Regions from separate parts of the Homo sapiens genome. Here all the other regions are linked to region 2. The links are contacts of gene promoters, found by promoter capture Hi-C in blood cells and fetal thymus (Javierre and others, 2016). All regions are on one chromosome and are shown on one strand. The core of a region is centred on a gene start or on the middle of the fragment in contact, and the rest is flanking DNA. Distances in the headings are between cores, read along the strand shown.

What was found. The method cuts DNA at HindIII sites, captures the fragments that hold promoters and counts their contacts. A CHiCAGO score of 5 or more calls a contact.
Region 1: a fragment that was not itself captured here is called in contact with the fragment with the promoter of ZEB1-AS1 in region 2 in 3 of 17 cell types (erythroblasts, endothelial precursors and fetal thymus); the score reaches 8.5 in erythroblasts.
Region 3: a contact is called between a fragment that was not itself captured here and the fragment with the promoter of ZEB1-AS1 in region 2, in 2 of 17 cell types (fetal thymus and non-activated CD4 T cells). The highest score is 7.0, in fetal thymus.

Annotation. Positions count from the first base shown.
Region 1 is chr10:30,747,192-30,751,186 of GRCh38, forward strand. No RefSeq gene overlaps it. Among named protein-coding and RNA genes, the nearest start is that of LINC02644, 26 kb to the left of the region's middle. The HindIII fragment of the contact is 2,379 bases long and covers 1,348-3,726 here.
Region 2 is chr10:31,316,447-31,320,586 of GRCh38, forward strand. ZEB1-AS1 (ZEB1 antisense RNA 1) reads right to left here and starts at 2,649. Exons shown (of 3, transcript NR_148979.1): 1 at 2,450-2,649. ZEB1 (zinc finger E-box binding homeobox 1) reads left to right here and starts at 2,770. Exons shown (of 9, transcript NM_001174096.2): 1 at 2,770-2,846. The coding sequence starts at 2,789. RefSeq lists silencers at 1,965-2,024, 2,765-3,214, 3,255-3,344. The HindIII fragment of the contact is 8,209 bases long and covers 697-4,140 here.
Region 3 is chr10:30,801,624-30,805,771 of GRCh38, forward strand. No RefSeq gene overlaps it. Among named protein-coding and RNA genes, the nearest start is that of LINC02644, 80 kb to the left of the region's middle. The HindIII fragment of the contact is 5,425 bases long and covers 129-4,148 here.

The DNA.
Region 1 (3,995 bases), core at 1,287-3,786, 570 kb before region 2:
AAATCTTATTCCAAGGTTTGTTCTCCCACCGTCTTATATCTCCTAGTTCTCACTTAAGGTCCTGCCAACTTATAGCTTTCTATGTCTTCCCTAAGCTGGGGAAAAAGGCAGGGTGGTAATGAAAGTTCTTGGCTGGGCGCAGTGGCTCATGCCTATAATCTCAGCACTTTGGGAGGCCAAGGCAGGCGGATCACTTGAGCCCCAGGAGTTTGAGACCAGCCTGGGCAATATGGCAAAACTCTGTCTCTACTAAAAATACACACAAACACACACACACACACTTAGCCTGGCATGGTGGTGCACGCCTATAGTCCCACCTACTTGGGAGGCTGAGATGGGAGGATGGCTTAAGCCCAGAAGTTTGAGGCTGCAGTGAGCCGTGACTGGACCACTGCACACCAGCCTGGGTGACAGGGCGAGACCCTGTCTCAAAAAAAAAAAAAAAAAAAAAAGACCTGGCAGGAGAGCAGTGTGGACACTGTCCTCCATCAGAGCGAAGGGTGCGTCTGCTGTGTGTCTGCTGCCTCCCTAACACTGACTCAGGGGTTGGGGACCAGACACGGCATTTGGATGCAGGAAAATGCCGGTGACTCATCCTCCTCTCGAAGGCTGGGCCAGATCACAGCACACTCTTGAGGTGAAGGTACCTCATTTGAAATTCACCAAAAACTCCCAGCGTCTCAAACAGTTCCTTCCGTCTGAAAAGTTGTATAAGATTTGTCACAGTTGGCCATCGCAAGTTCCAGCTCTAGAATTTAATCATCATATTGAACAACTAATTTCTAAATTGGTCTGTGATCAAGACCGCTTTGTAGGACTATTAATTGCTTGAAGTTTGCAGCCAGAAAATATGCGACAGCCTAGATTTTATGGCTCGTTCTAGATAATAGTGACATATGACTGAGAAATGCATCTGCTTCCCAACTCCATAAATTGGATGTTGTTTATAATAATGTAGCTAGAGCAGTAACACTTTATCTTAAGAGCTGCTGTCCCCACGGAAAGTCATTATTCAGTGTACACTTGATAAATTGGTCATCATTCACAGGCAGAAGAGAAATTGATGTGTCCTGTTTTATTTACAGAGGAACAGGCAATATGTTATCTGCTTATTGGACTGATGTTTTTCCTACCAGAAGGATTATGTTGCCTCCTGCGTGTCACTCAGAGAATTTTGTCAATGTCATCAGTCTTAAAAGCTTTATTGCCCGGAGCATAGGAAAAACCCTTTCTAGTCCCAGAATGATTTTCAGAGGAAGACCTTGGAAGGAGATTCTCTTTAGATACAATTTAATTTCTTACTTCCCAAATGGAAAAACAAAGAGGAAATGATAAATGACCAAGATAAGCTTTGTTCCCAACACTGGCCATGTCATGACAGGCAAGGCCTGATTTCACTCCCCACCCCCTTCAATACAGAAAGACAACAGTTAACCGTGGTTCAGTAGATGCTGTGCTGCTGATCGAGGCTGGGCCTTCCAGCCCCATGGACAAGCATCCTGACAGTGAACTTAGCAAGCTCTCCCTGGAAATTAAAATCTAGCTGAAAGGAGAGCATGACATCACTGCAGGAGACAGAGCCGTGTCATGAATCTCCCACTCTGGAGGCTCTGGGCCCACCCCTGGGGTATAAGCACTGTGGCCTGTGTACTCTGCTGCAGCTGGAACCAGAAGGAAAGCATCCCGGGACCCTGGTTTCACTGATTCTCTTCAACAGCTACATGAACTTGTGCACAGTGTGCTGGCAAAGTGCACAGGAGCTAAGCATCCTTTGAGAATGGCAGTCAGGCAGGACCTAGGCTCTAAGTCACCCTTCTCACAAGGTCTCAGGCTCCTCTGAGGCTATGGAGACTTATCCTAACATCTAGTACTTTCCAAGCACTAGATTCTCATGATGTGGCTCTCAGGTCACACAGCAGCCTCACAGTTTTCAGCCTCTCTTAACTCAATATAGTAATTCCCTACTCCCACCCTCCCCTGTGCCTTTTAAAAGACAGGGTCTCACTCTTTTGCCCAGGCTAGAATGAAATGTTGCGATTACAGCTCACTGCAACCTCGAACTCTTGGACTCAAGTGATCCTCCCATCTCAGCCTCCCAAGTAGCTAGGACTATAGGTGCTCACCATGCCCATCTAATTTTTAAAATTATTTGTAGAGATGACATCTTGCTTTGTTGCCCAGGCTGTTCTTGAACTCCAGGCCTCAAGTGATCCATCCACCTCTGCCTCCCAAAGTGCTGGGATTACAGACATGAGCCACCGTGCCTGGCTGTAATTCACATTTAATTAATCTCCAGGCATTCGCTGAATCTCCAAGGCACGTATGACATCATGCTATCAGGACGGGGTCACAGATGTGCAACTGCAACCACACGTGTACAGCATTCCAACGTTTTCCAATGCTTTTCCATGCACTGTCTTGAGATGATGCAACCATTGATCACAGTGGGAACTAAGAAACTCCTGCTCCACCACTGCCTGAGTGTGTGCCCTTGAGCTGCCTCTGTGTGGCTTGACGCCCGTCTTCTCTGTAGAAAAGCAGGGCCTATGCTGGTGCCAATGCAGTTGGGCTTCTCTGAGGATCAAATGAGATCACCCACAATGAGCCTTCATTCGGTGTTCCGGCCATCATCCCACTAACCCTACTCCACAAATGAAGAAATACTGTTACAGGGGTGTCAAGAGCAAGAAGTCTAATATAAATAGCTTCAGTGGATATAGCATTTTCAGTGTTTTCAGTTTTCCTCTGCTTTCACACATTTTTTTCTCAGTTTATTTTTTCATACCCTTCTTCTTTTTACAGGTGAGGAGATCAGCAGATAATGTAGGGCAGGGTTCTCACCATTGACATTTGGGGCTGAAAAATCTTTCTGTTATAGGGAGCTGTCCTATGCATTGCAGGACGTTTTACAGCATCCCTGGCCTCCAAGGCCAGTAGCGCCATCCCGGTTGTGACAACCAGAAAAGTCTCTGGTCTCTATAGTCTTCTAGGGGAACAAATTGCCCCCAAGCTGAGAATCACTGGGCGGGGGTGATTTGTTCAACAGCTAATGAGGAGCAGGGAGGCCACGGCTGGACCCCCAGAGCCCCAGAGCCCCCACCTGCAGATGGCTCACCCCCTATCACCACTGTACCTCCCTCTCCTCAAAGGAGTTGTTACAGAGTTGCAGAGGCAAAAATACTAGCAAGTTCTATTTGATACATAAATGCTGTAGGAGTTCAGAAAAGGGGGCATTTGTGATGAAATTCAGGCTAGACAAGATGGTTGAATGAAGGAGATGGAATGTGGCCCGGATCCTGCAGGCTGAAGGGGAGATACAACAGAGGGAAGACCATGTAAGGTGTTGCAGCTGAAGGAACAATGTGCAATGAAGATGGACAGAGGGGCGCGATGAGGACAGAGGGGTCTGCTGTGGAAGAGGGGAAATGAAGCTGGATGGGCGTGGGGACAGGGGACTCAGAACTTGGGGAGCCGTCAGAGGAGCCTGAATCTTATGCAAGACAAAGTCAGGCTCTGAAGGCTCAGCAGGGCTGGTCCTCACAGGGTCCTGGGGGTGTGGGGGTGTTGGAGACCTGCCTGGTAGATGTGCAGGAATCCTGGTGTGAGAAATTCATCTAGAACAATACAGTTCTCCTGTGACCTGAAGAAGGTGCCTTCTCTGCTTTCCACCAGTACTTCTGGTGGGACAACAAACTAAGTCACCAAGGAAAGGTGCTATGTATGCAAAGCTTGGTGGCAATTAAGGGCTCAGTGAGGCAGTTGCATGCAAAGCCCTGCCCCAGGTCCATCTCTGAGTCCAGCTCTGCTCAGAAGCTGTGGCCAATGACTTCTCCTTAAGCCTGGCCAAGTATCACAGAAGCCATTGTTCTTTTCCCACAAGCCCTCCAAAGACAACAAGCAAATGAGTCCTGGATTCGGCTTCTTCTGGGTTCTGAGAATGAGAGTGCAGAGGTGTTTGCTGTAACCACTATTTGGGGAGTCAGGACTTCCTGAGG
Region 2 (4,140 bases), core at 1,399-3,898:
TCTTTTATAAATTGATTCTAAAGATTTTTCCCCTATTCTTTAGCTGTATTTAAGAGATAAGAAGCAACCGTCACACATGCATCATGTTTAAAGCAGTAATTTATTCTGAGATTTACTTTTGTCTGTTTTCTTTCCAGTCCAGGTATCAATATTTTCAAGAATATTAAAGTATAATAATCAAACATTCAATTCATAACATATATGCTTATCAGAAGCTTTTACAAAATGGAAATTTTATGTTAGAAGATTTGGGCTACCAGTAATATTCACTGTGCATATTTTAAAAAAAAAGGTGAACAGAGTTCATTGTTTAGGGAAAATGATTATGGAGAAACTAAAATCAAGAGCAATTTTAATGTGGATATTAATGACAGTGATCACTTTCATATCCATGACTTTATCTGTTCCTAAGGACTAAAGGGATGAAGGCAGATTATGTACCTTACTGTCAAGAACAGGGTCAGAAAAGGTCAACAATATTAATTTAAGAAATGTTTATTAAGCATCTACTATTGGCTACGTACTCCACTAGGTGTTGAGGACATAGAAATAAGAAAAAAAAGTTACCTGAAAAGGTACTTGTCCACAGTTTGGCCCAAACTAACTAAACCAGAAACCACTAAAGTAAGGAAGAAAATGACTTCTGTTTGTCTCTTCACTTCATCTCTCTATGAGGTGAGGATGAACACTGAAGGAAGCTTAGCAGGGAGGTACAGGCCAGAAAGAGAACATGAGAAAATGCTATTTGTAATACCTCCTAAGTTTAAGAGTAGGTAAAATGTGTGATAGAGCTGGAAAGTTTTTTTTTCCTTTCTGGTCAGAAATCAGGGTAGCTGTAAAAATGTTGGTGGGGTGGGGTCAATTCCATAGTCTATGACCTGATTCGGTAGGCGACTGAAAAACATTGTACAACTCTTAAAAAAAGGGAGGAAGAACTCACACTTAACCAAGCAAAGCAAGGACACCGTGTTGACATACACAAGTTTCGGTTAACATGGTATCAAGGAAAGCGAGGACTGCCTGTACTTAAAATGATCATTAAGACTAATGATTCTAGTTTTGGCATTGAGGATGAATGCAGATATATAGACATAATGTATAGCAAAGAATATTTACAGTCACATTTCATGGACCAATAAATAACGCATTTACTTCTCAAAATGCCCAAGAAAATGTGGGAGAGAAAATGTTCATTTATATTCAAGATTAAACTTTCTAACTTTAAATCATCAGACTTCAGCTGTAAATTTATTTCAGTTGAAAGGTTTGAAGACATTATTAATGAATATTCTAAAATTCCGGAAGGTGTTTAAAAGATAATTTTAACCTAATAAAAAAATCCTGCCATAGAAGTGACAAAAATTATAAGCATAAATTTATTGAGCACCTACTATGTGTCATTGTGCTAGGTGATGTACTACGTTATTTCCAATACTCCGGTCACGTTTCAGTTTTCTCAATTTCTCTATCAATAACTGCTACATTGTTAATTTATAACTATATTACTTGAAATACAGCTCAGCTTATTTATTCCATAAAGTTGGTCCCAAAGACGTTTCCTTATTCGAAGGAGGTGGGAAGCAGGAAGGAAACCTAAATCTAAATTCTACTTAATACTGAAGACGACTTTCTTGATATTTGTGGTTATCTGTATGGTCTTTTCAGAAATCCCAAAACTTGTACCAAGTCAAGGATAAAATAAGATAAAATCAGCAATCTATCAGGTTCAGAGATCACATCTGTCAGCCGATGCTTCTTGCCTTAAGGTCCTGCACGGCGATGACCGCTCATTTAGGAAGGAATTCATGGCCTGTGGATACCTTAGCTCTGAGTCCTGCCACCTAGGATCCCACGGTTCTACGCGAGGAAGAGGGCGGGGAGCGCGGACCGGGTGTGGGAGGCCGAGGTGACAGCAGGTGAGGGCCGGGTGCGGATGGGGAAGTGAGACAAGCACCGTGTGGGTATTACTCATTCCGCTCTACTAAGGAGGCTGCTGGCAAGCGGAACTTCTAGCCTCTCTTTCAATCCAGCTGAAGTTCAATCTCATTGAAGTCACTTCCCATCCCGGTTCGCTTGGGGGGAAACCAGGCGTCCCTGGAAGGGAAGGGAAGGGAGTCCGGGCTGCGCGGGTCAGGTAGCCTCTCTCCGGTCGCCGCGTGTCCTCGCCGTCCCCAAACCTGCCCTTCCCCTCATCAAGGGAACTCCCCGGGGAGTCCAGACCGCGATCCCTTTCCTTGGCCCCGGGGTGCGGGGGGCGGACACGCGAGGCGTGGGACTGATGGTAGCCCTGCCTCCAGGAAGCAGGCAGGCGGGGACCTCTGGGCGCTCGGAGGGGCAGCTCCGAGGGCACAGGGTACAGGGAGAATCAGCCAGATCCCTCCCTGCCCCGGGCAGCCGCGGCGGGTGTGGCCAGCGCGGAGGCAGGACGCCGCCGAGCCTCCAACTTTACCTTTCCAACTCCGACAGCCCGTCGCCTTTCTGACCGCGTCCCTACGGTTTCCCGGCATCCGCCTCCCTCTCCCCACCACACCTGAGGAAAACTTTTCCCTCGCCCCTCAATTCAAATTCAGCAGTGCCCACGGTTGCCGCAAACCGCCCGGTCCCTAGCAACAAGGTTCCGGCCGTAGAGCGAGAGCCTCTAGGTGTAAGGAAGGTGATGTCGTAAAGCCGGGAGTGTCGTAAACCAGGTGCGGTGGGGAGGGGGGAGGGGTGGAGGCGGAGGGGTGGGGGGGAAGGGGGAGGGAGGGGGAGGAGGTGACTCGAGCATTTAGACACAAGCGAGAGGATCATGGCGGATGGCCCCAGGTGTAAGCGCAGAAAGCAGGCGAACCCGCGGCGCAATAACGGTGAGTGGCGGAGGGGACCGGGGAGCGGCGGAGTCAGGGGGAGCTGGGCAGCCGGGGCGCCCCCGGGGGTGAGGGGGGCGAGCCGGGCTGGGGGCAGCCGGGGCAGGGACGGCAAAGTGGAGTGGGAAAGTAGAAAGTAGTGCTCTCTGCCCCCCTCCGCTGCCGCCGCTGCCGGAGCCGCGCCGCGGCCGCTCGCTCTCCCTGAACCGTTATGTCTCTTACCTGGTCTCTCTCCGCCTAGCGGCTCCCGCCGCCCCTGCCGCCTCCCTGGACCGTTAGCCGGCGCCGACGCCGCCGCATCCCCGGCGCAGGGCGGGCGGCCGGGACGCACTGGCCACTTTTCTGGTCCCGGGTGGAGCGGCTGTTGCTTCTTTCCGCACTTTTCCCCACTCTTGTGCCCTTCGGCGCCTCCCTCTCCCCCTCCTCCTGGCCCCCTCAGCGCGATTCTCCCTCAGCGCCCAGGCCCCCGGGAGCCGCGGAACAAACTTGTGCCCGGCGCTGACCGTGCAAAGTGGCTTCCGCGCGCCGCGGCCCCGGCCGGCGCCGTCGCTGTCGCTCGGGCCCCGCGACTCGGGCCGGGCTGTGGGCGCGCGGCAGGCGGGCTGCGGCGGCGGCGGGACGGGGCGGCCGCGGGTTGCGTGGGGTTTGTGCGCGCGTGTGCGCGGGCGCCGGCTGTGCGCGCCGCGGGCGGACAGGGTTCGGCCGGCGGCGGTAAAGTTGGGACCCGCGGGCCGGGCGCGCTCGCGTAACGGGGATTAGAGGCGCGGGGGCGCGGGTCCCTAAGCGCCCCTCCTCCCTGGCGCCTCCCGCTGCCCGGCCCAGAGCCCCGGCCTGGGGACTCCGCGGCGAGCCCCGCGAGTGGGGTCCACGTTTGGCGGGGCGCGGCGGGGCGGCGCGGGGAACAAGGCAGGAAAGGTACCCACTTAACGCCGCCGGGAGCCGCGCGGATGGGGGCGAGCTGGGCGGCGGGTGTGTTTGCGGAGTTGTTACCTGGGCTTAGAGACCGGGAAGCACCACAGACAGATCCCCCTCCCGGGGCAGACGAGGTCTCTGCGCCGGGATGGGCCGGTGTGCGTGCGCCTCGCGCTTTTCTCTTTCGGTTTTTGGGGAAGTTGTTACCTGGGCCGGACGCACGGAGCGCTGAAGCCGGATAATGGGGCTTGGATGGCGCTCTGGGTCTCGGGTGGAAGGAGGGTGGGGGAGGGGGCGGACGGACCGACGGACGCGCGGGGCTGCTACTTGCACCGCAGCTGCAGTGTTTATTGATTTGTGCTGCTGTGCCAAGGGAAACACA
Region 3 (4,148 bases), core at 1,591-4,090, 510 kb before region 2:
TATGAGTATTCATTTTCCCCACTTTCTTGGAGGGCAGTTTGATAAAACATATGAAACTATGTAAACTTTGGTTCAATAATTCCACCCTAAAGAGCTTCACCTCAGTAAGCAATTAGAGATGTGCAGAAAGCTTGAGTACAGTAATGTTAGCAACAGCTTGATTTGCAATACTAAAAATATGGAAATGGTTCATCCAGAGAATAGAATATTTTGCAAAAATATAAATCATGTTTTTGAAAAGTACTTAATGTCTACAAAAATATTTAGGAGAGAATACAGAAAAAGCAGAATATATATTACAATGCTTTGATACCAAATGTATCAGTAAAGTGTTATTGTAGTTTTTTGTTTGTTTGCTTGTTTGTTTTTTGAGACAGGGTCTGGCTCTGTTTCCCAGGCTGGAGTGCAGTAGCGCCATCTCGGATCACTGCAGTCTCCATCTCCCAGGTTCAGGTGATTCTCCTGCCTCAGCTTCCCAAGTAGCTGGGACTACAGGTGCCCATTACCACGCCCGGCTAATTTTTGTGTTTTTAGTAGAGATGGGGTTTTACCATGTTGCCCAGGTTGGTCTCCAACTCCTGGGCTCAAGCCATGTACCCACCTCGGCCTCCCTAAGTGCTGGATTACAGGTGTCAGCCACTGTGCCCAGCCTAGATTTTTATTTTATTCCTTAAAACCTTACATAATAATTCCATATTTATTTTAAAATCAGAAAAAACTAATTTTTGGAGGAAGAATATGAAGTCTAAAAGGAGAGCTAAGGCAAATACAAAAGTGAGCAGGACTGGGATTCAGCCAGTACACACCAGGAGACTCCATCATGTCTCAGGGTGGCCAAAATGACCCGTGGCCATTTGATTAGCTGGACCCTTGACAGATCATTAAATATATTTAATATCACTCATGCAAATAACTACGGTCAAAGGCAGGAAATGATAAATTTCTTAAAGCCTGGATAAAGTGTTTTTAAAAGTGACATTCCATGAAAAGAATTGTTTGGAGACCACTGACAGTGAAAATGAAATAGACCATCAGGCCAGGCGCGGTGGCTCACGCCTGTAATCCCAGCACTTTGGGAGGCCAAGGTGGGCGGATCACGAGGTCAGGAGATCGAGACCGTCCCGGCTAACACGGTGAAACCCCGTCTCTACTAAAAATACAAAAAATTAGCTGGGCGTGGTGGCGGGCACCTGTAGTCCCAGCTATTTGGGAGGCCAAGGCAGGAGAATGGCGTGAACCTGGGAGGCGGAGCTTGCAGTGAGCCGAGATCGTGCCACTGCACTCCGGCCTGGGCAACAGAGCGAGACTCTGTCTCAAAAAAAAAAAAATAGACCATCATACTCTAAAGACTTTAAAAGTGACTGTGCTTAAGAACTAGAAAAGAATCTTAAAGATCAAAAATGTCACAGGTGGAGAAAAGAAATATTCACCCACTCGTCCAAGGTCTCAGAGATAAGGTGGTGTTAAGTAATTGCATCCCCCAAGTTCATGTGTTGAAGTCCTAACCTCCAGTGCTTCAGAACATGACCTTATTTGGAAATAGGGTCACTGTTGGATGTAATTAATTAAGGTGAGGTCATTAGGACAGGCCCGAATCCAACTGACTGGCTGAATATGACTGGTATTCTTACAAGAAGGGAGAGTTTGGACACAGACACAGACATGCTTGCAGGGGGAACATGTGATCACGAAGCCAGAGGTTGGGTTGATGCTTCTACAAGCCAAGGAATACCAAAGATTGCCAGCAAAGTACCAGAATCTAGGACAGTGGCATGAAACAGATTGTCCCTCATGGCTCTCAGGAGGAACCCACCATGCAACACCTTGATCTTGGACTTCTGGACTCCAGAATGCTGAGACGATCAATTTCTGTTGGTTAACATCCTGGTCTCTGGTGCTTTGTCATGACAGCCCTAGCAAATGAATACAGGTGGGAAGCAGAACTGGACTCAGGTGAGCTGACTCTCAGCCCAGCATGGAGGTCTTTTAACATACTCCAACGTCTAGTAGACATTTCCTGAGTAAATAAATTCTTGAACCCTCTCCGGATGGAGATTTTTGTGGTTTTCATGTTCAGGACAGAACTTACTCTGAACTCCAAGCCAAGCTGAGATCGGAACTTGGACTGGAATTGAAGGGTCCCGCGGGGCTTAGATCGCCAGGTTAACCCATGAGGGTGGAAATGGGTGCTGAAGGTCCTCTCACCTGAGTTAGAGGCAGCAGGAGGGCAGCCCCTGAGGCTGTGGGATGTGGCCTTTGAAGCCTGCAGGTTGCCCTCCAGTGTAGGGTTTTCTAATGAAGACAGAAACAGCAAGTGTTGACCACACTCTTCTCCCAGGCACTTGGCAGCTGTGCTTGCATTCCTCCTCCAGGCCCAGATGTCTCAGGCAGGAACGCTGGGTCCTGGACTTTTAATTCAATCCAGATTGTGTATTGAGTCCTCTTACCATTTGGGCATGAAAAGGAGATGGAAGGGACAGTGTCTGGCTTGGGAAAGCTGACCTTCTGCCTGTGAAGCAAGACCCATCGCCCAGCCTGATATGCAACAGCAATACATCACATATGGGAATCTCACCTCCCACAGAACAGGAAGAGGACGGGACGTGCAGAGGCATGATGTGTTGGCATCATCAACAGGAAACTGACACTCCTGCCCTTGTGGCCTCCCGATACTGTCCTCCATGCTCCAAACTCCCTTCGAAGCAACTGGAGACCCAGAAGGTCAGAATCATTTACGAAATTCATGTCTAAAGGCCACACTGGAAGGTTCACGTTTTAGGATGAAACAAAACAAAACAAAACCCTAGGACCCAAATTTCTTTAACTTGAAGCCAGGGAAGGAGATGCACCCAGCACATATGAGGTGCTGGAGCTCCATGATTGGCAGCCTCTGGGCCACCCCCGGCAGGGCCCTGTCTCCAGCAGGCAGCCTCCTGTCTGTGGTGAGGACTCCTCCACAAAGGACATGTGCTCTCCAGTCCTCAACCCACGCCTGCGTCACCCAGGGTACCCAGCCAGGACTCAGACCAACCGTTTTATGACCCACAGAAACGTTGAAAACAGTGTTTCTCCAGAGCAGCTTTAAATGCAAACAAAAGACTCTTCTAGAAACCATTGCCTCAAGCTGTATGAGGCAAGAGGAAAAAAAAAAAAAAAGAACAGCTCTCAAATTAAAATCCATGATACATTTTGTACATAGATTGTGGTTTTATAGTCACTTTAATCTTCCTCCCCACTAAACTCCTCCAAAGATTTGAACATCAGCCGAGCCAACACACAGTTGCACTTCTAAGCAACACACTTGTAAAACCAGACCCTGGATGGTGTCCATAACAGCTTTGTAACATCTCCAAAGCAAAGGGTGACATGATACATTGAAACAGATCCAAGTAGCCATTACTATGTTTTGTGTCAAAGAGCTGCGTTATTAAAGTCTTGGAACTATAAATCAGAACAGTTGCATGTTGGGGCTTCCTGCTCATCTCCATGTCCCACGTCGGCACAAGTCATTCCAGGGGTCCTGAAGGCTGCCCTGGGTCCACCCGGTATCTGCTGGACAGCTGAGCCCATGGCCTGCATTGTCACTGCTGGGGTGGTTGGCATGGAGCAGAGTGTGGCCCTAGTGGATCAAGGTGAGCTTTCTACAGGGCCCCGGCGCTTGGTGCAGACTTCACAACACCAACATTTTCCAGATTCATCCAGTCCCCCATACCAAGCCCTCAGCGTGCGACTGACCTAAGACTGACAGGAAAAGGCATTTTTGAGCCAGGCACGGTAGCTTGCGTCTGTGATCCCAGCACTCTGGGAGGCTGAGGTAGGAGGATTGCTTAAGGCCATGAGTTGGAGACCAGCCTGGGCAACAAAACAAGACTTCATCTCTATAAAAACTAAAAATAAAAAAAAATTAGACAGGTGTGGTGGTGTGTACCTGTAGTCCTAGCTACTCAGGAGGCTAAGGCAGGAGGATGGCTTGAGCCCAGGAGTTCAAGGTTGCAGTGAGCTATGATCACAGCACTGCACTCCAGCCTGGGAGACAGAGCAACACTCCATCTCCAGAAAAAAAAGGCAGGGGGGCATTATTATTTATTTTCAAAGTCTCAAGTTCAATCAAAAAGAACTGTGATTCTTGGCCTCGCCTTTGCTCCTTC